3 separate regions of the Homo sapiens genome follow, and regions 1 and 3 are each linked to region 2. The links are contacts of gene promoters, found by promoter capture Hi-C in human tissues and cell types (Jung and others, 2019). All regions are on one chromosome and are shown on one strand. The core of a region is centred on a gene start or on the middle of the fragment in contact, and the rest is flanking DNA. Distances in the headings are between cores, read along the strand shown. Region 1 overlaps MYH9 (myosin heavy chain 9). Region 2 holds the start of IFT27 (intraflagellar transport 27). Region 3 has its middle 6.8 kb from the start of IL2RB.

The links. Contacts are between HindIII fragments. The study calls those that stand out against the background at their distance.
Region 1: a fragment that was not itself captured here is called in contact with the fragment with the promoter of IFT27 in region 2 in 1 of the 25 tissues and cell types used here (small bowel).
Region 3: a contact is called between a fragment that was not itself captured here and the fragment with the promoter of IFT27 in region 2, in 2 of the 25 tissues and cell types used here (mesenchymal stem cells and spleen).

Annotation. Positions count from the first base shown.
Region 1 is chr22:36,359,707-36,363,666 of GRCh38, reverse strand. All of the region lies in intron 1 of MYH9 (myosin heavy chain 9), which reads left to right. Among named protein-coding and RNA genes, the nearest start is that of MYH9, 26 kb to the left of the region's middle. RefSeq lists an enhancer at 28-968. The HindIII fragment of the contact is 7,297 bases long and covers 1-3,960 here.
Region 2 is chr22:36,773,538-36,777,501 of GRCh38, reverse strand. It overlaps IFT27 (intraflagellar transport 27), which reads left to right and starts at 1,383. Exons shown (of 7, transcript NM_001177701.3): 1 at 1,383-1,828. The coding sequence starts at 1,795. RefSeq lists enhancers at 1-554, 1,082-1,341, 1,120-1,683 and silencers at 1,582-1,631, 1,762-1,821. The HindIII fragment of the contact is 3,270 bases long and covers 746-3,964 here.
Region 3 is chr22:37,154,874-37,158,566 of GRCh38, reverse strand. It overlaps a transcript of IL2RB not described here. Among named protein-coding and RNA genes, the nearest start is that of IL2RB, 6.8 kb to the right of the region's middle. The HindIII fragment of the contact is 5,288 bases long and covers 1-3,693 here.

The sequences.
Region 1 (3,960 bases), core at 753-3,252, 410 kb after region 2:
AAAGCTTGTTATTGAGTAGGTAAGGCGCAGGTGTGATGTCACTGTGCAAATATTGAACCAATTAAAAGCAAAGCCAAGGGTCCAGTGTAGATGACTTATCTGCAGATCCAGCCCTAGGTCTGTCTGCCTGGCCTCTTAACATGGGGCAAAAGCTGCTTAACCTATTGTTTCCTCCTCTCCTTCCTTCCTTCCCTCCTTCCTGCCTCCCTCTGTCTCTCCCTCCAGCTACCCTTGGAGTGGTCATTCTCTTGGACTGCCAGGTTCCCAGAAAATACTTGCAAGCATTTTCAACAATTCAGTTATTTTCAACAAGCATTGATGCTCTCTCTGCAGCACCCTGGGCAAGAGCAAGAGGGTTGGGGAGACAGTTCCTGCCTCTAGAGAGTTCTAAGAGACAGCAGAGGACACAGGCAATGAAGCCATGGTTCTGTATAAGGCAGATTGCGCTGGGCCTGTTGGGGAGGAGGGAGAAGGGTGAGTAATTCATACTAGGGTAATTCATACTATGAGTAATTCATACTAGGAGAGGCTGCCTGGGGGCGATGGCATGTCCACTTGGTTTTGGGGACTCTCAGTCTGTGGAGAATTGGGGAGATGGGCCCTCCAGCTTGTCTCTGGGTGACAGCTGAAGCAAAGGCTGCTCTGGGGAGTGTGCTCTAGTGACTGGAATGGAGGGTTGTAGCAGGGGATAAGAGAGGTGTGGCTGGAAAGATGGTTGAGAGGCACTGGTGGAAGGCATTGGGGTGGGGTTATAAAGGCTGTAGGGGGCACACTTCTATCCATGCTGGGCGGGCTATCATTCTGGGGTGATGGCAGGGCTGGCCTCAAACTTTTGCTGCTTTCTGCCCTGGCTCATTGGTTGTTTGATTTATTCATTAAGAAATGGTTTCAGGCCGGGTGTAGTGGCTCATGCCTGTAATCCCAGCGCTTTGGAAGGCTGAGGCAGGTGGATCACTTGAGGTCAGGAGTTCAAGACGATCCTGGCCAACATGGTGAAACCCCATCTCTACTAAAATACAAAAATTAGCCGAGCGTGCTGGCATGCACCTGTAGTCCCAGCTGAGGCGGGATAATCACTTGAATCCAGGAGGCAGAGGTTGCAGTGAGCCAAGATTGTGCCACTGCACTCCAGCCCGGGCAACAGAGCGACTCAGAAATGGTTTCTGTGCTGAGGATCTAAAGCCATGTCTCTGTGGTCCTGAAGTTGGTATCTTAGTGGAGGACACCCCATTGGACACTTTATTGTGTAGTCTGTGTGACACATGCCACATGAGATCTGTGCCTAAGATGCTCTGGAAACACTGGCCCTGGAGCTCCTGGGATTGCTTGGTCACTTCTCACTGTCGTAGGACGGTGATTCCAGGACTCTCCTCGAGCCAGGCTCTATGGAGTAGGAGATCAGAGGGTAAAGTCTATGGCTGCACTTGTCCCTCTCGTGTCATTTAATCACTCTCCACCTAGCCTGGTCAGGGAACTGTCTTTTCTTCTCTTAGATTGGAAGCTCCCTCCTTGCAAGTCCCCAGTATTTTCCAACCACTGACTTCTCATTGCCCCCTCCATGCAGGTAAGGGAGGATGATTTCTGTTTTTTTTATTTTTGAGGCAGAGTCTCGCTCTGTCCCCCAGGCTGGAGTACAGTGGCGCAATTTCGGCTCACTGCAACCTCTGCCTCCTGGGTTCAAGCAATTCTTGGCCTCAGCCTCCCGGGTAGCTGGGATTACAGGCGCACACCATCACGCCTGGCTAATTTTTGTATTTTTAGTAGAGATGGGGTTTCACCATGTTGGCCAGGCTGGTCTTGAACTCCTGACCTCGTGATCTACCTGCCTTGTCCTCCCAAAGTGTTGGGATTACAGGCGTGAGCCACCGTACACCCCCAGCCAATTACTTTAAAATACAAATCTGATGTCACCTCTGCTCCTCCCCAATTATCCCTAGAATAAAGTCCACATTCCTAAATGGCTGATAAGATCCTGGGTTAGCTGCCCCAGTTTATCTCCTCCAGCCTGTCCCAAGCTATTGCCCCCACCCCTTCCCATGCAGGAGGAGGGACTCTATGTACCACATTCTGGTTTCTGGTGTCATTTTTTTTTTAAAAGAAATTGTTCATTTAATTTTTAAGTTGACAAAAATTGTTTATATCCATTGTGTACAACATGATTTGAAATACGTACTGGTGTTGTTTTTGATAGCCTGAGTTTCCTTCGGTGCCAGGCAAAGTGAAAGTGACCACAGGCCCTCCCTTGGACAGGCAAATGCCATCATCTTTCATTGTTTCCTGGACTTTCAGCAGTCACCTGAGCCCCCCTCCATGCCCGCTTCAAGGAGGCAAAGGCAGAACCTGCAGATGGGGCAGGCTCTGGGGCCCGGGCACTAAGTTCCTCTCTGGTTTTCTTATCTGCTAAGCATCAACACAGGCTTGGGTTGGAATACTGCTAATGGAAACAAGTTCCAGCTTCTTCTGTAAGCAAACAACATTCCTGAGGTGGAAAGGGAAGGGGGGCCCACCCGCAGTCTTCAGCTCCTACCTCCTGGGCACTGGCAGCTGGGAGGAGCCCCCCACTCCTTGTTAGCCTGGGGAGAGTGAGGGCCTAGGTCGAGGCTGCTGTAGGTTATTAGCCCTGGGTGACAGAGGAGCCACTTTATTGACCCACCCTGTAGATAACTGCTCTGACAGCCCTGGTGTGTATTGCAGAGAGTGGCCTTGTGCATACCTGTGAGCAGATAGGACATTTTGCAGGTGGGAAAGCCGAGGCCTGGGTGGTGCCTGCAGGATTGCACAGCTGGTCAGCACCTCGCTGGACTCAAATCCAGCTCTTCTGCCACAGGCTTTGTGCCCATCTCACCAGACCAGCATTTCCCAGACCAGCATGGAGAGAGGTTTTTCCTGCAGGATATTCCTGGGATGGAGTTAAGCAGATTTCTTTTTTCTTTTTCTTTCTTTTTTTTTTTTTTGAGATGGAGTCTCACACTGTTGCCCAGGCTAGAGTGCAGTGGTGCGATCTCGGCTCACTGCAAGCTCCCCCTCCCAGGTTCACGCCATTCTCCTGCCTCAGCCTCCAGAGTAGCTGGGACTACAGGTGCCCGCCACCATGCCCGGCTAATTTTTTGTATTTTTAGTAGAGACGGGGTTTCACCGTGTTAGCCAGGATGGTCTCGATCTCCTGACCTCGTGATCCGCCCGCCTCGGCCTCTCAAAGTGCTGGGATTACAGGTGTGAGCCACTGTGCCCGGCCTAAGTTAAGCAGATTTCTTTTTGCAGGCTGCTTCCTACAACATTTTGTGCATATTGTGATTGCAAGAGGGCCATAGGGAGACGGCATTCCATCCTTACTCGGCCACGAAACCCTCTTCCCTCTGCAAATTGCTGTCTTTATAGTCACTGTCCCTGAGAACTGTCCTCTATGGATGGATATAACCTGCAGAAAGAGTCACTAGACTCCTGGTAACTGATTTTCAGAGGGCCCAGGTGTCATTCCTAGGAAGAATGGGGATTAAATAGCTCAGAATCACAAGATAGAGGAGTTGGGAGGGAAATTCCTATCATGCCATTCTCCACTGGGAGCTTGAGCTACAACTCTTCTGATGTTAGGTGGTGGTGGTGGTGGTGGTGGTGGTGGTGGTGGTGGTGGTGGTGTTTGTCCTCATTCTAAAGCTAGGAAATTGGGGTGCTAACAGCTTCAAGGTCACAGGAATTGTGAGCAGGGGACCTGGGACTCCAATCCAGGTCTGTCTGGCCCCAAAGCCATAAACTCCATTGTGGTACATTACAAGCATTTATCTTAGGGTTTGCAGAACCAGGACCTCACATGGCTGTGGTTTTTCCACTTCTGTCTGTCACTTCTGAGTTGATACCAAAGGTTGATGTTGCCAGCACCTACTTGATAGATGGAGGCGTAGCATTCCAGGAGGGCACACGACCTTCTCATGGCATCCTAGCAAGAGCAGAGGCCATGCCAGC
Region 2 (3,964 bases), core at 134-2,633:
AAAGAAGAAAAGCAGTTACGAGAAATGAAGGAGAAACAGACCTTTACCGTAGCGCCAGGAATGAATCCCAAGGAAAGAACATCTCAGACAACTTGCATTTACTCTGGATTCGGGGCTGAAACCATCAGCCATTCATAGAGTGTGTGTGTTTATTCCCCCACACAAGGCTGGCAGCCACTCTGAGATGCAGAGTGGCGGAGAGGTGGAATGTTCTAGGTGTCTGGAGGGAATGTGGAACTTTCGCACAGGCACCTTTGCTGAGGGGCTGCTCTTCCCTTCAGCATCAGCCATCAGAATCCCAGGGGCCCTGAGAAAGTGAGAACAAGGGGTACATTCGGCCAACCAGTGACAGTGATGATAAACCAAATCTGTCCAGATAAGCTTCCGCTCTCCCATCCACCCCACAATCACGTGTGCACCTACTATCTCCCAGGCACTCATACGTTTCTCTCCTTCCATCTCCACAACCACCCCACAAGGCGGGTTCTCCTAGGCCCATCCTGAGGCTGAGGGATGAGGTGACTTGTCCAGGCCAGGGATTTAGGTCTCTGACCCCCTAACCACGTGCAAGAGGCACCCCCAACCCAGTAAACGCGTACAGAGAGCCTCCCTGGGTGACGGGCAAACGAGGTTAGTGATGCATTCTCCTTTTGCAGAGAGTAAATGGACTAAGAGCAAAGTACGACTTCAAGTTTCCGAGTCTCACCGCTTAGCCCCATCAAAGTGTATTTGTTCTCCCTTTGTTCACAAACATCACTTTAATAAAACACCTTCATATTTTAGATTTTAACGCTCATTACATCTTTGAGCTTTTAAAATGAGATTTCCCTGCGGGATGCGGGGCAAGGACTGCACTTCTCCATGCACTTTAATAGCCGCGCTGTGCAGAACCCGGGAACCGGGGAAGCCGCGAGAACCGCGCGAAGTCAGAGCAAGTCAAAACGACCTCTACAGCGGCGGCCTGGCCCACTGCGCAGGCGCCGCTCCAGACCGCCTAGAGCCCAACCTGCCCCATTGTAGGCGAACCCACTTCTAGAAGGACAGCGGGAGTGGCGAATCCCTATTCCTCCCGAAGATGGGTCAAGCCAGACTCTGACCAATCAGAAAGCTTCTCTTGTCACCGCTTCTGACTGCTTGACGTGGAGGCTTCTTTATCTCGGGACTCTCAGGCGCAGCGGGGGCGGGATATAAAGCTGGTTGACGTCAATTACAACCACTCGTCAAGCAGACTGAACTTGAAGAACTGATAACTCTACGAATTGCATCTCAAGAAAAGGCTGTTATCCCAGCTCTCTACTCCCATTGGATTTTTGTGAGACCTTGAGGGTGGGAGCTTTTGGCGGCAACCAATCGAGGGTCAGCGAGGAGGAGGAGGAGGCGGGGCAGGTGGGCTATGGTTGCTTGGAGAGTGCATCCGGCCCGGTACTTGTGATCGGAGGAGAGCCGGATCGTCCTTCCTTGAACCCTCTGGGTAGGGCTGTGCTGAGGGGCTGGGCGGGGAGCACAGGCCGTGTCCGCTCGCTTGCACCTTTTCAGACTGCCGTGTCAGGCCTCGAGCCGGGCCCACCTGGAGCCCTCCCCTGCCCACCCGCCCCCAGCGCCCGATATCCGCCCCCGGCCCAGAAGGGCCGGGCTCGGTCATCCCCAGTCCCGTCGCGGCCACTGACCCTTGAGATCAGCCCTCCCCTCCCCACCTTCCCGTCCCAGGCCAGCCCAGGGCCCGAAGCCCACCCACTCGCGTCTCTAGCAGCCGCTCTTGTCCTCTGGGTACGGCTCGCGGGAGTGTTGGTTACCATGGTGAAGCTGGCAGCCAAATGCATCCTGGCAGGTGAGTCTGAAAACTTGCGCTTGAATACGGTGGTCTCTGGAGTCCAGAGCCTTCATAATTCATCCAGAGCTTTTGTTCACCTAAATTGCCTACCTTTTCCTTTCTCTCTCCCAAAGGCGAGTTACTGCAATTACTGATACAGTAAATTACGTTAGGCGTGGAAGAATGATCTTCCAGGGCACTTCGCAGCTCCAGTGGATTTCCCCCTGCTCCCTGTCACATACTCTGAGACCACCTTCACCAGTTGAGGTGACTCGTTAAAAAATCACTAGTTACAACTCTGGAGAAGCAGACTTGTTAAAACAAAACAAAACAAACAAAGCTTAAGCAAACCTTGAGTGCTTCAGCTAAACATATACTGTACCCCAAAGTTAGGCATCAGTGACTTTGGTAGTCTTTACTATGGGATTTTTCCCCCGACCTCACCCCCTCTGATAACGGTGACCTGAGTGTAGTGACCAGAGTTTGCAAAAGGCACTTGTGTGTTGTCTTTAAGACCCAAAGTTACTGTGCTGCCCCACTCCAAGAAGGGCATAAATGTTGAGTCTCCCAAAGGCAGGAATCTTTGTTTTGTTGACTGATACATCCCAAGCACCCAGAACAATGCCTGGAACATAGTAGGTACTCAATAAATACTTTTAGAATGGATGAATATGTGAATATGTGGCATGCACATTTGTAGTGTACCCCTTGTATCAGTCTGCACATTTAGAAAAACAATATTTTGGATTATAGACTGCGAAACACATATGCATGTTACTGAGTGCTTACTGCATGTGAAGCACACATATTTCATGTAATCGTCTCACCATAGCACACTGGGCTAGGTACTGGATTGTTTTTCTTTTTTTTTTTTTTTTTTGAGACGGAGTCTCACGCTGTTGCCCAGGCTGGAGGGCAGTGGCGCAATCTCGGCTCACTGCAACCTCCACCTCCCTGGTTCAAGCAATTCCCCTGCCTCAGCCTCCCAAGTAGCTGGGATTACAGGCGCAAGCCACCATGCCCGGCTAATTTTTTTTTGTATTTTTAATAGAGCTGGGGTTTCACCATGTTGGCCAGACTGGTCTCGAACTCCTGACTTCAGGTGATCCACCCACCTCGGCCTCCCAAAGTGCTGGGATTACAGGCATGAGCCACTGCGCCCGGCCAGGTACTGGATTGTTCTGATCTTACTGAGGCACTGAGAGATGTCAGCCAAGGTCAACCCCTAGTGAAGGCCCTATGCAGGATTTCAGCCCCTAGATCTGGCCAACTCCAAAACTCTTAACTCGTGTTTCTGTTGAAACCTGTGACCTTTCCAGGCTTCCCTGGCCAGCTCAGGAAAGAAGTGGTGAGAAATTATATAGAGAAAAAGAGATTCCTGTTTTAAAAAATTCCCCTCTTCCAGACTGAGAATAAATGATAATATTTTTAATGGCTTTTATAATTTGAAAATAAAAGGGTCACACAGAAAGATGACTGACAGTAGTAACTGAATCATACTGGAGCAAAATAAATTAATGGTTCTCAGGAGAATCTCCAGTTTCCAGAGCACCAGAGGAGGCAGTGTTGTGTAACAAAAGTAATTTTGCCTGTTCCTCTTATTGGCTGTGTCATCTTGGACGAAGCACTTTTTGAGCTTTAATTTCCTTATGGATAAGGTGGGAACATTATTTTCTGAAGTTACTTTTTTTTTTAAATGGGCTTCTCTCTGGGTTCTTTTTAAATTCGGTTTTCATCATGGAGCTAACTTACTGGCGCTTTGGGTGCATCAGCTCTGCTAGACCCTCAATACAGGTGGTCTCATTGAATCCTCATAGCAACCCTGTGGGATTGGCATTATTGCCATCCTCATTTACAGATGAGGCAACTGAGGCCCAGAAAAATGAGAACATTTGCCATGGGTCACAGAGCTGGAAGTGGCAGAGCTGTATGATCCAGACCCTGGGTCCCAATCTGATTTCCAGGGCTTTAGCCCAAGCTACTCTGTCCTCAAGTAGTGCTCCTCTGTGTCCTTCTATTTTTTTTTTTTTTTTTTTTGAGACGGAGTTTCACTCTCATTGCCTAAGCTGGAGTGCAATGGCACAATCTCAGCTCACTGCAACCTCCACCTCCTGGGTTCAAGCGATTCTTCTGCCTCAGCCTCCCAAGTAGCTG
Region 3 (3,693 bases), core at 1-2,500, 380 kb before region 2:
TATTTTTTTTAGACGGAGTCTTGCTCAGTCACCCAGGCTCGAGTGCGGTTGCGCAATCTTGGCTCACTGCAACCTCTGCCTCCCGGGTTCAAGTGATTCTTCTGCCTCAGCCTCCTGAATAGCTGGGACTACGGGGTGCCCACCACCACGCCCGGCTAATTTTTTTTTAATTTTTATTTTTGGTAGAGACGTGGTTTTGCCATGTTGGCCAGGCTGGTCTCGATCTCCTGACCTCGTGATCCGCCCGCCTCAGCCTGCCAAAGTGCTGGGATTACAGACATAAGCCACCGCGCCCAGCCCTCCCCTTCCTATCTTGGCATAGCTACGTGGCATTCCACTGGATGGAAGTTCCCTAATTTGCTCATCACCTGTCCCCTATGGATGCGCATTTTGTTGGCCTCGGGTCCCGTGACTGCAGGAGTTACTTTGTACACACGTGTTCAACATGGGTCACTCTGTTGATGAGTTTTAGGTGTGGAATTGCTGGGTCATGTGTCAGAGATGTTGGTAGATGTCAGATTGCCTTCCAGGGAGATGCTTGAAGCCCACGCCAGCAGGGTGACTCGCCTTTTCAACCTGCCTTTGATGGCAAAGCTTTTGAAACTTCAAATATGCTATCCTGGTGTTTTTAATGTGTATTCTCAGGACTCTTCAGGGTATTAGGGACTTAGCACTTTTGATTCTTTCTCTTTTCCTTTTTTCCTTCCTTCCCCTCATATTGACACTGTCCGTATGTCAGGTAATTTTCTGGGTTCTGGAGTGGTGTGGATGAATCCCACACTGTTCCTGTTGTCCAAGAGCTCCTGGTGTAGACTCATAAGCAAGGCTCTGACATGAGATATGGTAACTGGCTTGTGCCCAGAATCTGCCTTGGCCAGAATTGGAGATCAGGGAAGGACTGGTTTTAAATCGGGGAGCTGATTAGTCTGAGTAAGTAGGGTGGGAATATGGTGACCAACTTTGTCCTAGGAATATCACTGTAAATCTTATGTTCTGGAAACCCCCCTCAGTCCCAGGCACAGTGGGACAGCTGGTCACCTTGGCGCGATCCTGGTAAGGAATGGCATGGTTTGCACAAGATAGGAGCTGCTCAGGGCGCTGGTGCTGGTGTGGCTATGAAGCAGGCAGCTCCCGGATGAACAGGGAAGAACGTGGGGCTTCAGGTCTGGAGCCTGGGGGGCTGGCGTGGAGGTGGCTGCTGTGGCAAAGCAGAAGTAAGGGTGATGGCTTGGAAGGAGGGGGTGAGGGAGGGAAGGAGTCAGGGAGAATGGCCACAGTCTGTCTTGGGGACTGGTGGGTGGGGCGCCTCCAGTGAAGAGCAGGTGTCAGCAGAGGGGCATGCTCGGAGGACAGCCCTCAGGAAGTCGGCCGCTAGCCTGCTCTTTCTCCTTGTTCTGCTCTGGCCCCTCTGTGGGCCCCTGCAGCTTTGTGATCCTCATTTGTCATGAGGGGTACCCCACAGTCTGATGGGGACTGGGCGGAGGGTCAGACACCAAATTATGTATACCATAGTCCTCCTGACCAGGGACCAGGACTCAAAACCAGGTCACTGGTGAGGCCTGGCACTGTGGGGGCAGGACTTTTTTTCCAGCTGGGGACTCGGCTACCTGCTGACTTTCCAGAAGACAGGTCACAGCACCGAGCAGGGGTGGGCGGAACACAAGGACTTGAGGGTGGGTGACAGTGTCAGCTGGCTGAGCCAGGGAGGGCAGGAAGGGAGGTGGCCCTGGAGATACTGGAGGTCTTCACAATGGCAGAGGACAGGCGGTGGCAGAGACAGTGAATGGCACCCCCAAACCTGCTCTCCCCTGCCCGTGTGCCCTCTACTTATAGCTGGCTACATCTCCCAGCCTCCTCTGCAGCTTGGTTGGCTATGTGACTCAGGCGTAGCCAATGGGATGTACATTAGAAGTGGCTACGGCAGCTTTGGGGAAGGGTCCTTAACAGGCAGAGGCAAGCCCTCCCTCTCTCCTTCCTTTCCCTTCCATCTGCAGGAACGCAGAGGTGATGGGTGGAGCTTGAATAGCTCTCTTGGTCTATGAGGAGATGGGAGAAGGATATTGAAGAGACCCTAGTAGCAAGCCAGATTTAGCTCAGGATCCTGACATCATAAAGCCACCCCACCTAGCCTGGGTGGCCTCCCTTTGGACTTCTTTTATGTAAGAGAGAAATAAAGCCCTCTCTTATTTTAGGTCACTGTTTTCTTCTTCTGTTCTCTTTGGACACACGCAGCTGAACTTCATCCTAACTGGGACACTGTTGTACAGTGGAGGCGGTGATGGCAGCACGCGGGTGAGCTGAGGTGGAAGTTCAAGGGGTCTTGGTTAACACAGGTCAGAATGATGGCAGGGTGCAAGTGCAGGCCTGGGTGTGGGACTGGTATGGAGCAGTTCAGAGGGAACAGGAGGCTGGAGGCTACAGTGTGGACCCTGACATCTCCTGGGAGGCGGAGTGGAGAGGGAGGCTGAGCGCAAGGGCCAAGCACTCCAGTGAGCAGAGGGAGGACGGGTAGGGCGTTTGGCAGATACCAGGACTGAGGAGGATGCAGTCTGGCTTGGCCCCAAAAAAGACAGCCCAAGGACATCAGGGCTGGAAGACCCCAATATGCCCTTGTCCCATGGCCCCTGTGAAAGAGGGGTCTGGGTCCAGTGGTGGGAGGGCTGTGGGACTGGGTGCATGGAAACAGAGGGTATGAGGCGGTTTGTTCCCAGTGGGACCCATGAAGATGCAGCGCAGAGGGTCAGGTGGGGATGTGGAAGACGTAAGAGAAGTAGTTATAGGAGCAAGGCGTGGAGCTCGTGGAGGAGGCTGGGTCCAAACCCCAGCACTCCTGAGACCCAGGTCTGGGTAGGCCCGAGTGGGCTCTGTCAGGGCTCTGCCATCAGAGAAGCTTCTGGATTACATCTCAGGTTGCCTCAGAGAGAATCGGATGTCCTCTGGGACAGACCTAGGTTCTAATCCTGGCTCTGCCACATTCTGGTAGGATGACTCATGAGGCCTGGTTTCCTGGCCTGTAAAATGGCAAGGGAAGAGCAGGCTCAGCATGCACAAAGCCCTGACAGAGTGAGAAAGCACAGGAGGCAGGGTCAGAGATGAAGATGGGGCAGTCCCTGTAGGACATGTGGGTCAAGACTGAGAGTTTGGATTTTACTGTGAATGCACTGGGAAGGTTTGAGTGTGTATGATGGGGAGTGGCTGGGGGGTGAAATGACGTGATTTGAGTTTGGGAAAGGTTGCTCTGGCCGCTGAGTGGAGAACAGACCAGAGAGTCAGGAGTATTAATAGAAACAGGGAGACCAGGGCGGAGGCCACCATGGGCCTGCTGAGGTGGGAGATGACACGGCTCTGAGCAGGGCAGGGGCTGAAGAAAGCAGGTGCACCTCTCTGCACACCCCTGCTGGCCACCCATGCCTCTGGGCTTCTGCTGGCGTACTGTCTCACCCCTCCTCACCTGGTTTTATGTTCAGCTGTAGCACCTGGGGGACAGACTGTATGAGTCAGAGAAAACAGAAACAGCAGTCCCCAGGTCTCAGAGGCCCAACAATAGAGGTTTATTTTTCATTCAAGTTATAGCCCAGTGTGAATTGTCTGAGGAGGGGTGAGGGCCTGTCCTTCAAGGGACTCCAGCCCCTCTACCCAAAACTTCACTGGATTCTGGCAGGGGAGGGGAGAGAGAGAAAGAGATAGAGGGAT